Regions from separate parts of the Homo sapiens genome. Here all the other regions are linked to region 2. The links are contacts of gene promoters, found by promoter capture Hi-C in blood cells and fetal thymus (Javierre and others, 2016). All regions are on one chromosome and are shown on one strand. The core of a region is centred on a gene start or on the middle of the fragment in contact, and the rest is flanking DNA. Distances in the headings are between cores, read along the strand shown.

Region 1 (4,276 bases), core at 567-3,066, 310 kb after region 2:
TCCATAAGTTATTATGACAACCCCTCCTCCCATATTCCAAGCACTGATAATTGAGAGCCCAGATGAGATTAGAAGTCTAGACTGCATGTTTCCTTCATGTTTGATCTTTCTTCTTTCTCTCCCAGAGAACATGAAGGAAACACGTTTTCTTTGTTTGCTTTTGACAGCTAATTTCCAGCAGTCCATCTATTAAGGAATCTAGGATCCCACTTTTATGAGCACAAAACTCCCACTTTCCTTAGGGGTGTTCTCAGGTATTCTGACATAGTTTAATAGTTTCAGGGGAGGGCCTAAAAGTCGTATGTTGGGGACTAATTTTTATTCTGAAAATTTGGTAATTGCTACTGCAACATAGTGTGCCTTCTGCACTTTTTCCAAATCACCTTGAGAACTCCAGCCCTAACATCGATCCATCCTACTGGATGTCTTTTCTGATGTGAAATTAAAATGTTTCAGTGGGAGGCAAGATATGCAAAGGGGTAACTCCTGGGAGGTGCCCAGTTGTCACTGTAGCCTCTTTAGAATTTTCTCCTAGGACAGTCATTTAGTTTATTAATTCTGAAAGGCCAAACACCAAAATGAGATGTTAATCTGAAAGGAATAACTTCAAGACCTAATAAAGAATGACCACTGAGCAGAGTTTTTATAGATTGCAAATCACTTTCTCTTACATTTGACCTTGCAACATCTTCTAAAACTGGTTTGCCAATCTCTTCTTTTATGGATGAAGAAATGGAGGCTTCTAGGAACCAAGTGACATGCTCAGGATTGCACAGCTCTTCTTAGAAGGACTGGGGATTTCAACTCTGAGTCTTATACCTTTAAATGCCACTGTAACTCTATACTGCCTCCCTGATGCCTCAAAACACTTTTGAAAAGAAGGAACACGTCCTACTGGAGCTAATCAGAGGGAAGAACTAGAAGTACAAATGAGCCACAACGGAGAGTTTTAAAATTCTCTTCCCTAAGTGAGTTCCGGGAAGCTCGGGAAGGGGTGGACACTTGTACAGTTCACTTGTACATCTTCACTCCTGAAATGCTAGGACAAATCTCATTTGAACTCCCAGTCAACTGAGAAATTAAAAGCAGAGAGCAACGACGCTATTTTGTAACTTTGTGCCTTTTAAAATTAACCGAATCTTTCAATTGCTGCTGTAGATTAGAAGTGGCTACTTGGATAAAGGGGAAAGAGCCATTCAACTGATGAATACTATTGTAAAAGTCCAGACTTAGTTCTAGAAAAGGAACGCACAAGAACAATTTCTCCAATAACGTTTTCATTACAGAGCGAAGGAAAGTTCTTCCTCGTTGTTCCAATCCGAGGACAAGCTGATATGTCGCAGCAGCCCAGGGAAGCATGCGAGCTGATAGGAAGTCCTTTTATTTTAAGACAGGCTCGAATGCTAAAACTTTCTTGTGCCAAAACCCTTGACTATTTTATTTTTAAAATAAGCACTTGGCGTGCCCTCGCAGATGTCTGAGCTGAGAGGTCGGGGCGATGGTAGAAGAGCAGTCAGTGTCCATTCTTATTCATATTAAGTAGCCAAGTCTGTACCCTTGAAGCAAGTGGGGAGAGAGGAGGGAGAGGAGCTGCTGACATTGACAATGAATCCAAACAGGAGTTGCACTAGCGGTGTCCACCACGTTGCCTCTCCCCCGCCTGGCCTTCTGGGAGCTGTAGTTTTCGTGGGAGCGGCTCCCCAGGCGAGCTGGGAATGCCCCGCCCGGGCCGAACTACAGATCCCAGGCGGCGCTCGGCCGCCAGCCCCTCCCGCCCGGGTGCGAGTGTAAACTCCCCGCGCTGGGGCGGGCGGCCGCGAGCCGGCGAGCGGGCAGAGCTCGGCACTGCGCCGGGGCGCACGGCTCGGGGGACCCAGGCCCAGCTACCTTCCCTCCGCCCCCGGGCTCTGTTCTCACTTTCCAGCAGTGGAAGGACGGGAAGCGGGAGCCATGCAGTCCGAATCGGGGATCGTGCCGGATTTCGAAGTCGGGGAGGAGTTTCATGAAGAGCCCAAAACCTATTACGAACTCAAAAGTCAACCGCTGAAGAGCAGGTGAGTGGTGACAGCTGGGCAGAGGCGCACCGGGCGGCTGGGGGGCACTGCGTCTGCCACTCTGGGGCGAGGAGAGCGGGTCGCGGGAGCTCTGGGACAAGGACCCAGTGCCCTTGCCCCGGAGCAGAGGGCGAACTGCCCCTCGCAGTTGGGGGCCGCGCCTGCCCGGCCCAAGTGCGCCTTTAGGAAGCTCGGATGGAGCGCACTTCGCGGGGGCGCGGCGGGTCGCCGGGGACGAAGCGTCCAGGCGCGGGGACCCTCGGCCGAGGATGCCAGCTGCTGAGACTGATTGGGGGCTGGGGAGCGACCTGGCGCGATGTGGGGGAGGAGGAGCGCCGGGCCGGGACGCTGTCCCGGTGGGATGGGGGAGAAAGAGTTCTAGTGAACCCCCTTTCTGAAGATCCCAGCGGGTTGAGGGCTCGGAGAGGGAGAGCTTTGGGTGGACTGAGATGCGACATTGGAGGGAAGCAATTAGTTCGCTTGGAGTCACCTCTTGGGAGTCCGGTCTCTGTGGGGAAACTAGCCTCTGGGCTCCTGCAGGTGAGGTTTCTCTGGGCTCCGCCTCTCACCTCCAGACCGCTGCTAGCGGGCGCGGGAGGGGCCAGGGCAGCGGTGGGCGTGTCCCCTTGTTCAAGTTAAACTCTCTGGAAATAGAGTCCCATTCAAATCCAGGCCTTACCTGCAGAGGGGAAATGAGCCTTGGTCTTGGGGGTTACTGGGAGTGTACCCCGCTTGGCAGAGACACGTGTTTAATTCGCTGGGGACTTCAGAAACTTTTTAGACGAGGAGTGAAGACATCCACTGCTCTGATGCCCCATCCCCTCTAGTGCCCACTTCCCTTGAGCCACCCTTTTTGCTGCCTCCATTCCCACTTGTCTGTCGAAATGGATTGGGTGTCTTCCGTTCTCTCTGTCCGGCAGCCACTCTGGACGCCTCGTACTTCTCGTTTACAATGTTTCCTAAAAGGGACATGGTCAATGGAGGCTGGAATAGCTGAGAAGGGTTTATTTCCACCCCTCTAAGCTGTGAGCTAGGATAAGGCTATCATTGGAAGCATCCAGCAGGGCTTCTGCACTCGGCTGTAACTTCCTGCCTTGCCCTTCGCTGTGGATGGGGCCTGGGTGAATGGGCCTGGCTGGCAGAGTGGGAGAGGGTCTTGAAATGAGGGTGAGTGGAGAAGGGCAACTGAACGGGGAGCCAAGTGGTGTAATCTTGGCCTCTGGCGAGCACTGGGCTGGTTCTTTTTCTAGTGGAAAGTGCAGCCAGGTTTATTTCCTTCAGGGCTGTGGCAGGACTCTTTATCCAAGTTGGGGAAGAAAATCTGGGAACAGCGGTCCTACTGACTGCCATTGCTGAAGACTCTTTGTAGATGCTTCACGGCAGATTGGAAGGAAACCGCCTAAGCAGTTGGACGTATAAAACCAGCCTTTAGTTGGTGGTTTTTCCTCATAATGGCTGTTTTGTGTGTGAGCATAGATTGTGTGTGTTGGGGGCTGGGGGTTTTGAGTAATATTGTGTGAAGGGTATTGTTGGTTATGCTCATCAGGGCTTTATCTGCATTCGGCTGAAGGGACCAGTGTTTTACTGGGCAGTCTCTGCTTTTGCTTCTATAAGCAAATGCTTACACGGCCAGAATGAGGGAATGAGTGTGTGTGTGGAATCCTGAAAGAAATAAATTAACCGGACTGTTTGGAACATTTCTGATGGTAGCTGATACATAACATTAAATCAGTTTGAGAGAGCGAGGAAAATACCATCTGGAAAAACCCAAATGAGTGCCGTGAAACTCATGTTGCACGATTTGGGCCTGTTCTTTTTCAGAGTCAGCAAAAAAGACTTGTAAGGGTGAACGTCCTCAGTAGCTAGCTAGCAGGCACGTGTAAGGGAAAATGTGGGTATGTGGGAAGAAATGGCTTCACACGTTAATGCTAGAAACAGGTGTGGGCCTGAACCAGCAGGGAAAGGAAGGCTAAATTAAAAAAGTTGTTGTAAAACTTGTATATGGAGCACACACATGCTCTTTGAAATAAACCAGTTAAATAAAATCTGTGAATAAATATATGGAGTTGGCAACATTTCTCTATACTGTTTTCCACAGTTGTCTAAGGTATTGTCGTCGACATCTGTTGTGTGACTTAAAAGGGCTGCACATTGTTCAGGGCCTTCTCTCTCATTGCTTTTTGTCTTATGTTTTTGCTGGGGCACCTCACTTCTTACAAGTC
Region 2 (4,230 bases), core at 281-2,780:
CACACGTCCCTTTCAGAGTCTATGTAGCAACCTGTTTTACACATGTTGGTGCTTTTGGTTGGTGATTTTGCTGTTTAAAATGCCCCCTAAGCATAGTGCTGAACTGCTAAATTAGCTGTGGTATGAATGTTTGTGTATTTCCAAAATTAATAGTTTGAAGCTTAATCACCCGTGTCAGAATGATAGGAGATAGGGCCTCTGGGACATGATTAGGTCATGAGAACACAGTCCTCATGAACGGGATTAGTGCCCTCATGAAAGAGGCCCCAGAGAGCTGCCTTACCCCTTCTACCAAGTGAAGACACAATGAGAAGGTGCCATTTATGAACCAGAAAGTGGACCCTTATCAGGGTCTACCAAATCAAGTGGACTGTCAAGTGGTATTAGCAGGACCCTCATCCATTGACACTGAATGGCCTGGTGTCTTCATGGTGAATTTCCCAGGCTCCAGAACTGTGAGAAATACATTTCTGTTGTTTATAAGCTACCCAGCTTATGGTATTTCGTAACAGCAGCCCAAATGGACAAAGTTCCTAAGTGGAAGGCAGCTGCAATGTCCTTGTTAAAAAAAAATAATGTCTTAGATAAGCTTCATTCAAACATGAATTATAGTACTTTTGATATGAGTTCAATGTTAATGAATCAACTACATATATTAAATAATGTGTCTTTAAACAGAAACACACTTAAAACAAGGTTATGTACTGACTGGCTGATGAGAATGTTGTGACGAGGTTTATAGCAGCATAACTTATTTCCCCCTAGGTGTGATGTTTCAGTATTTGCTAATTTGGTGTTCATGATGCCTTTACTGAATATAACTACCTCAAATAATGAGAACTGACTGTATACTGACACTAAAAGGACAAGGTCTCACTCTGTCACCCAGGCTGGAGTGCAGTGGTGTGATCATGGCTCACTGCAGCATCGAACTCCTGGACTCAAGCGATCTTCCCGCTTTGGCCTCCCAAAGAGATAGGATTACAGGTGAAAGCCACAGCACAGCCAGGATTGTATTATTAAGGCACATGTGCCTTAGTCTGTCACTTCTGAGTGGTTTCTCTCTTAGCTTACTAATATAAGAAGCAAATCCACAGACAAAGAGGGATGGGAATAAGCAATTTTCATAAGAAACACAAACAGCCAATAAATATACAAAAATCCTTCACTGATAGTCGGAAATAAATATTAAACAAATGAGATATTTTTTCTCCTATTAGATTGGCAGAAACAGAATTACTTTTATAAGACAAAAGAATTGAGGTAAGATATATGTTGACTACCTTAAATCCCAATATGGGATTTAAATAAAAAAGCAACTTCTTTAAAAATTCAAAGATGAATTTAAAATTTGCTTAGGAAGGTAATTCTGAAGCTGATTTCAAGAGGCAAAGCTAAAATAATGAATGTAAGATTCTAAATAACAAGTTATATAGATGTAATATAGAAAAATCACAGGTGCTGTTGACCTTATCTTTAGCCTTTGGTAATTAGGACTTGAACTATAACAGCCTTTTATTTCTACCTACCCGCAACCCTCTGCTTTTATGTACTTTACCTCTGCTTACTTCTCTGCAGCCAGACAGTGACTTAGGCAAATAGGAAGGTAGGTGATGTGCTATTAGTGTTTTAAAAGGCTTTCATCTCTTCCATGGTTTTTCATGGTGTTATTATCTCTTATCAGTAGTTAATTTATATAGTATTTCCATGATGCCTTCTTAACAATATCCAGTGTATTAGCGTCACCTCCTTCTTACACAGTAAATTCATTTCAACACTGCATTGGCCAGAAAGGACATGCAGTAAATGTTAATCAATTCTATTGCCATAAGAAACGTGCATGGAGTTAAAGTTCACAAGAAACAGAAGCTAGAGAACTAACAGCAAAGTGGAACTTGCTGCTCATTAGTTCACGAACACACTCCCCAAAAGTGAAGAGAGACACTCTCACCTGAAACTAGTGCTAGAAGTAGTTATCCTGTTCACACAGCACACCCTACTGCCCATGGGGGAAAGTTCACTTCCAATGCACAACTGAGAAATTAAATATGGACCCTGCTGGCCAGCCTCCACCTAAATCTCATCTCTAATCGATCTGCAATTCAATAACATGCATGTCTTCTTTTGCCCCTACCTTTCGTGATGGCTTCAGCTGAAACATAAAAGGGCTTTAAAAGATTAATAGTTCCATCTTGATGCCAGGTGAAGTAAATTCCCAATTCATTCAATCCTCACTGTGATGTTTTGCACTTGGTACAAAGTAGATGCACAATAATGTTTTATAAAAGCACCACAATAAGATAGGTATTATTTTTATCTTTTTTTTCAGAAGACTTAAAAGGATTAATTAGTAACTCTCCAAAGATCCCAAAGCCCAAGTAAGTGGGGGAGCCAAGAGTTGAACCTCATCTAACTCCAGAGCGTATGCTTAATGACTACACTATATTACCCTCTTATTCTTTAATGCTAAAATAAGCTTTCAGCATTAAAAAGAAATGAACCGTCAGGTGATAATTAGTTTCAAAGTCTACCATAACAGGTTAGGCCTTTTAATAGCTTTAATACCACAGCTTTTGCTAAAGATTGATCAAGAACACAGGCCATTTCCTAAATACCTCACACAAAGGCAACTCTAAGCAAGTGCTAATTTTAAAACAGGGCATATGCCATGTTATCAATAGGAATCCAAAGTTAAACAACAGAATGGGCTAAGTGTGGAGCTTCTGGCATATGCTGGGATGTAACAGCCCTTCTCTTTAAATCAGGTGTTGCACCCATATAGTTTGCTAAGGATAAGGTATGAATAAGGAAATGCTGGGGCTGTAATGAATAGGTTTTCATTATTGTGGATTTGAAACAAACTTTTAAAAGCGTGTGTGTGTGTGTGTGTGTGCATGTGTGTGTGTTGGGTAAAGGATTACGGAGATTAACATTCAAAAGACAGTCAACAGAGAATAGTCCAGAAGTGGAAGGAATTTACGACTTAGCCTTAGAGTTTTCTCACGTTAATACCAACCTATTGGTAATGCCTGCCTGGAGCCCTGTTTCAGGAAGTATTGTGAGACCCGTTCTGAGTTCTACAAAGAAAGGGTGCTGTGTTGATTAATAATGTCTGTCCTGGCAGAGGAAAGGAGGGGAGCATATTAACTGCATAGTTGCTTTTCTTAGGACTAGAAGATTCACAGGAGTGCCATATTTGTTCATTACCACAGAGCTATCTCAGAGCTGCCAGCTAGGACTGAGAGGAAAGATCACACTGCAGACCCAGGATATTTAAATCAGAAAATAATTTTAACCGTGAAAACACAGGGTCTATGGGATTTATCCTCAGATGTAATAAGATAAGCCCACAGATGCGCTTAGGGGCTGAGATGACAGAAAGGCCACTTGGCTGAGAAACAGGAGGGAAAAAGAGCCAAGCAATATGGCTGAGAATTTGTTCTCCATACTGGTACAACAGAGCTTGGTAGATTTGCTATTTCTTTGGCTCAGCCTCATAGATTTTGGAAATGTGACTATTTATAGGGATTCTTATTTTTTTATTTCTTTCACTCATCCCTTAAAAGTTTTAAGCAAAGTCTACTTGAAAAATGTCAGCCTGTCTCAGGTGTGCTGAGAGAAAATTAAGTTTTGTCAGTGTTTAGTCAGAATATAAAAGGAGGGGAAAACTGACCTCTGGTGGTAAATTTGGAAAATCCCTAATACAAAGATTTCCAAAAAGTGATCCAGGAAGCATTAACCCCTCAATATTTTCTGTGGGAGAAGGGCTCTGTGGTAAAAATAACTCTGGGAAACAATTACATACTATATAAATATAATATATATTTATATGTTATATAATATATTTATAATATATTGTTATATATTACTTAATATACCTGTTTTTTTGGCAACTCATTGTGTTTAAGCCCTTAAGAATTCCTGCAGAAGAGAAACTATTTAATGCCTTTTAATTCAGCATTTTCTAAATCTGTTTGAATATAAACATGAAATATATTTTTAAAATTAACCTAACATTTTGGGAGACATGAACCTTAGGGAGAAGAATATAAGATCACGTTTTCCCCGTCCAATATGGAGAATTCCTTTCAGAGCTCTTCTCTGATAAAACCTTAGAACACTTGTGTTTTTACACGTAGCCTTCCCTTCCTTGTTCTCCTCCATGACTGTGTTTAGTAAGAAGCTAGGTAAATGTTTTTTTTTTTTTTTTTTTTTTTTTTTTTTGAGACA
Region 3 (4,427 bases), core at 238-2,737, 410 kb before region 2:
CAGCAACTCGGACCAGATTCCAATGGGGAACGGGAGGAGGTGGCCCACTTTCTACAGGCATCCACTGGAACTGGCCAACAGGATACTTAGTGGATCAAACATTCCCAGAAGCAAACAACTTTCCCATTCTCACAGCAGTAATCCCACTGGCTGAATCACAGGGCTACCCACCTAGAGTGGCGAGCCTGAGGGTTCCCAGGCCTTCCTATTTTTTGACTCGTCCTTCCCGGTAATAAAGTCATTGTTATGACCAAGCCCTGACCTTTGGTTATCCAAGTCCATTGTCCTCCAGTGAGCTCTGGCCATCACTAAACTCACCGATCAGTGGAGAAGTAACGCTTAGGCGATGGAAAAAATCTAAAGACGCAGATCAGAAAGCTGGCGTCTGGCGAGGGCATGTACCCACTTGCATAAGGCGGCTGGGGGTGGCTGCTGGGCCTGGCACAAAGCCTTCCTGGTGTCGGTCGTCCTGCAAGGCCCGCCGGGATGGGTGGCTGCACTCCTCCAGCACACGGACGCTTTACTGGCCAGGCTACTTTTCCTTCAGCTCAAAGCAGCTGGAATCACTCCACTCCAGAAACCCTTGATTCGATTTCCACAGGCCTAATGAGGAAGGAAAAAAGGGAAACATCTGAAAGATGATGGATAGGAGGCAAAACCTGGGGTTGACACAGCGGGCGAAATGGGGCAATGTCGCAGAGAGAGAGAGCTTGGAAAAGTTTAAAGACGGCAGTGGGCAAATGGAAAGTTCAACACGTGAGACCCCGAATGACACCTCAACGGCTGGCCCCTACTTGTGCCAAAAAGTCTCTCGGCGGGTGCCAGGCAGGGCTCAGGAAGTGCTCGGCTGCCCCTTGAACGTCAGTCCCGGCAGAGCCCAGCTGTCCGCTTGAACGTCAGTCCCGGCCAAGGGCTGAGGGGTCAGTGGCGAGCACCCCGCCGCGGCTGAGACGCCGCGCTGGGGTTCCGGACCCCGGGCGCCGCCAGGGATTGCTTCGGGGTCGGTGATCTCCCGGGGCCGCCCGCCACCGTGCACCGCGGCGCCCCGGGTCCCCAGCGCGCCTGGGAGGGGCCCCGGGGAGCGGCTCCGCCCCGGCTGGAAACCTGGTCAACGCGGCTAGGGCCCGGGGCCCGCCTGCGCTCCGGGCGCTGGGAAGGGGCCGGGCGCCCGGGGCCGGGGAGGGCCAGGATCGGCTTCCGACGCCCGCCTCCCGGCCCGCAGGGAATGGGAAGGCGCGGGCGGAGTGCGTGCGTAGGCTATAGCCCTCCGGGAAGCCGCGCCGGGAGCGGCTACCACCCGGGCAAGAACAGCGCAGAGCGCTGCGGCGGCGGGAAGGAGAGCGGGGGAAGGCTCCGCAGATTGCGGGGGAGTCCCACCTGGAGCCGGGGCAGCCGTGAACTACCGAGGAGGAGGCGGAGGAGACGGCGGCTGTTCCAGAGGAGGGAGTCGTCATAACCGGCTACTGCCGCTCACCGGAAACCTCGGGCGCGGGAGCTGGGCCAGGGGGCGCCAAGGAGCAGCTGGGACACCTTGGCCAGCCGGCGCCGTGGGCGGGCTCGGGCCCCGCAGAGGCAGGACCGGGACTACACCCAGGAGGGCCAGGGCGCGGGGCCCGACGCTCGGAGCGGCTTCAGCCCGGCGAGCGGCCTCGACCCGGCGAGCGCAGCAGGGAGGGGCTCAGAGTCGAGGAACCATCTGCCCTTCCTGGCGTTCTCCCGCGAACGTTCGCGCGAGTCCGCCAGCTCCCTCACCAGGGCCGGAAAGACCGACGGCACGTGCCGGCGCCGGACGCCCATCTCCATCGCAGCAGCCCGCGCCTCCTTGAGCGAGAGCGTTAAAGCGCTCAGAGGATGTTAGGACGGGGTGGGTAGAAAACCTGACTCTTCGTGTCTTCTGCGTTGCACTGAGGTGGATTTTTACTTTTGTCTTATTTCAAGCAGAAGTTGCCGCCCTAACTTCCAAATTTGGGGACTGAACATCGTTCACCGAATACACTTTGTGATGGTGAGGATACTTTGGAGTCCACACACATTTTAAAAGCAGTATAGTTTTACCTATCCGTAAACTCATCAAGTTCAAATGCTACTCTGTGGAGTTTAATTTTTATGGTTTTGTTAATTTACTTTATTACTGCTTATAATTATTTGAACTCCCATCCCCCACTGTCTTTTCCTCTAAGCTCCCCCAGGCCTAGTATTCCATCTACAGCACAGTAGAGTTGATCATTAAATAGTGACTAAAGTTGAACTGATTATATGAAGGTGATGACTTCAAAATAAACATGCTCAAATGAATATAGTCACCAGAAGTTAAATAATATGATCATAAGGAAACAAGTTTGTTTCCAAAGGCTTACATGCTTTTTACGTAATTTTTAAAAGTAATGTTGTTTAAGAATTGTTACAAGTTCCATTAGTGACCTGCTAAATTAGGAATCTTACCTGGAATTTTTTTCAAATAATAACAGCAAGAACATGTGGTGTTTAACATGTGCCAAACATTGTTTTAAAGCACTTTACAGTATTAATTTATTCTTTTTATTGAAAAGATTTTGCCTCTAAGGGAACTGTCAAGAGGCATGTGAACCGGAGCAACTCCATCTTAAATAGGAGCTGAGTAAAATGAGGCTGAAACCTACTGGGCTGCATTCCCAGGCCGTTAAAGCATTCTAAGTCGCAGAATGAGATAGGAAGTCGGCACAAGATACAGGTCATAAAGACCTTGTTGATAAAACAGGTTGCAGTAAATAAGCCGGCTAAATCCCACCAAAACCAAGATGGCCATGAAAGAGACCTCTGGTAGTCCTTACTACTATACTCCTATCAGCGCCATGACAGTTTACGAATGCCATGGCAATGTCAGGAAGTTACCCTATATGGTCTTAAAAGGGGAGGCATGAATAATCCACCTGTTTAGCATATCATCAAGAAATAACCATAAAAATGGGCAACCAGCAGCACTCAGGGCTGCTTTGTCTATGGAGTAGCCATTCTTTTCTTCCTTTACTTTCTTTTTTTTTTTCCTTTACTTTCTTAACAAACTTGCTTACACTTTGCCCTGAATTCTTTCTTGCTCGAGATCCAAGAACCCTCTCTTGGGGTCTGGATTGGGACCCCTTTCCTATAACAGAATTACTGCTCTATTATTTTATACTTTGCATACTTCACCATCCCACACTAATGACAGTAATTTTTTAAAATGCTTCCTCAAGCCAGGCACTGTGGCTCATGCCAGTAGTCCCAGCTACTCAGGATGATCGCTTGAGCCCAGTGAGGTTGAGGCTGCAGTGAGCCATGATTGAGACACTGCACTCTAGCCTGGGCCACAGTGAGACCCTGTCTCATAAAAAAAAAAAAAAAAAGCTTCCTCAGCCTACTTGCTACCATCCTATTTTTGTCACATACAAAAAGGTTAAAATCAGTATGACATGTGCATGGTACTATTTTATTTTATTTTTTTTGTAGAAACAGGTTCTTGCTATGTTCCCAGCACTTGTTTCCAACTCCGGGCCTCAAGTGATCTTCCAGCCTCGGCCTCCTAAAGTGCTGGGTTTACAGTTGTGAGCCACCACGCCTGGCTATGTGGTGCTATTTTAAACACCTACATATTGAATGGTCATTCAGACTTACAGGAAACCAGATATGATAAACCTGAACATGAGATTGAGTCTCTCTTACTGTAACAGCCATTCTCAAATAGAATTTCTCTCCAAAATACCAATGTTAGAATTTAAATTTTCTTTGAGCTGACATAAAACTCAAGTGTCTACCAATAGAAGGCTGGTTGAATAAACTATGGTTTATCCATACAATGTAAAACTATGCATGCATAAAAAGGAATTGAGAAATATCTCTGTACACTACAGAATATTGAGTGGGAAAAGGATATGTAATATGTAAATATCATTTTTCTAAGAGGAATATGTGTGTATACATGTGTATACACATATATATTTACTAATTATTATTTTACAAGTAGATTAACATTTAAAATGACTATATGGGCAAGGAGGGAAGAGGAGGGGTATAAGGAACAAAGAAGACATGACTTTGTTTTTTGGTGTGTGTGTGTGTGTGTGTGTGTATGTGTGTGTGTGTGTGTGTGACAGAGTCTTACTCTTTTGCCCAGGCTGGAGTACAATGGTGCAATCTTGGCTCACTGCAACCTCCATCTCCTGGGTTCAAGCAATTCTTCTCCCTCAGACTCCTGAGTAACTGCGATTACAGGCATGCGCCACCATGCCTGACAAATATTTATATTTTTAGTAGAGACGGGGTTTCACTGTATTGGCCAGGCTGGTCTCGAACTCCTGACCTCAAGTGATCCGCCCACCTCAGCCTCCCAAACTGCTTGGATTACAGGCGTGAGCCACCACGCCTGGCGTGAAGACATGACTTTGAAGTCATGTAAATATGTTACATTATAA

The links. Contacts are between HindIII fragments. The CHiCAGO score rates a contact against its expected background, and 5 or more counts as called.
Region 1: the fragment with the promoter of MITF here is called in contact with a fragment that was not itself captured in region 2 in 1 of 17 cell types (monocytes); the score reaches 6.2 in monocytes.
Region 3: the fragment with the promoter of EOGT here is called in contact with a fragment that was not itself captured in region 2 in 1 of 17 cell types (activated CD4 T cells); the score reaches 10.2 in activated CD4 T cells.

Annotation. Positions count from the first base shown.
Region 1 is chr3:69,737,648-69,741,923 of GRCh38, forward strand. MITF (melanocyte inducing transcription factor) reads left to right here and starts at 1,817. Exons shown (of 10, transcript NM_001354604.2): 1 at 1,817-2,054. The coding sequence starts at 1,951. RefSeq lists a promoter at 1-1,953 and a silencer at 1,753-2,052. The HindIII fragment of the contact is 10,451 bases long and covers 1-4,276 here.
Region 2 is chr3:69,423,450-69,427,679 of GRCh38, forward strand. It overlaps a transcript of FRMD4B not described here. Among named protein-coding and RNA genes, the nearest start is that of FRMD4B, 39 kb to the left of the region's middle. The HindIII fragment of the contact is 1,887 bases long and covers 588-2,474 here.
Region 3 is chr3:69,012,197-69,016,623 of GRCh38, forward strand. EOGT (EGF domain specific O-linked N-acetylglucosamine transferase) reads right to left here and starts at 1,488. Exons shown (of 18, transcript NM_001278689.2): 1 at 1,378-1,488; 2 at 319-603. EOGT-DT (EOGT divergent transcript) reads left to right here and starts at 924. Exons shown (of 1, transcript NR_185971.1): 1 at 924-4,427. RefSeq lists silencers at 806-1,355, 1,416-1,715. The HindIII fragment of the contact is 3,596 bases long and covers 1-3,361 here.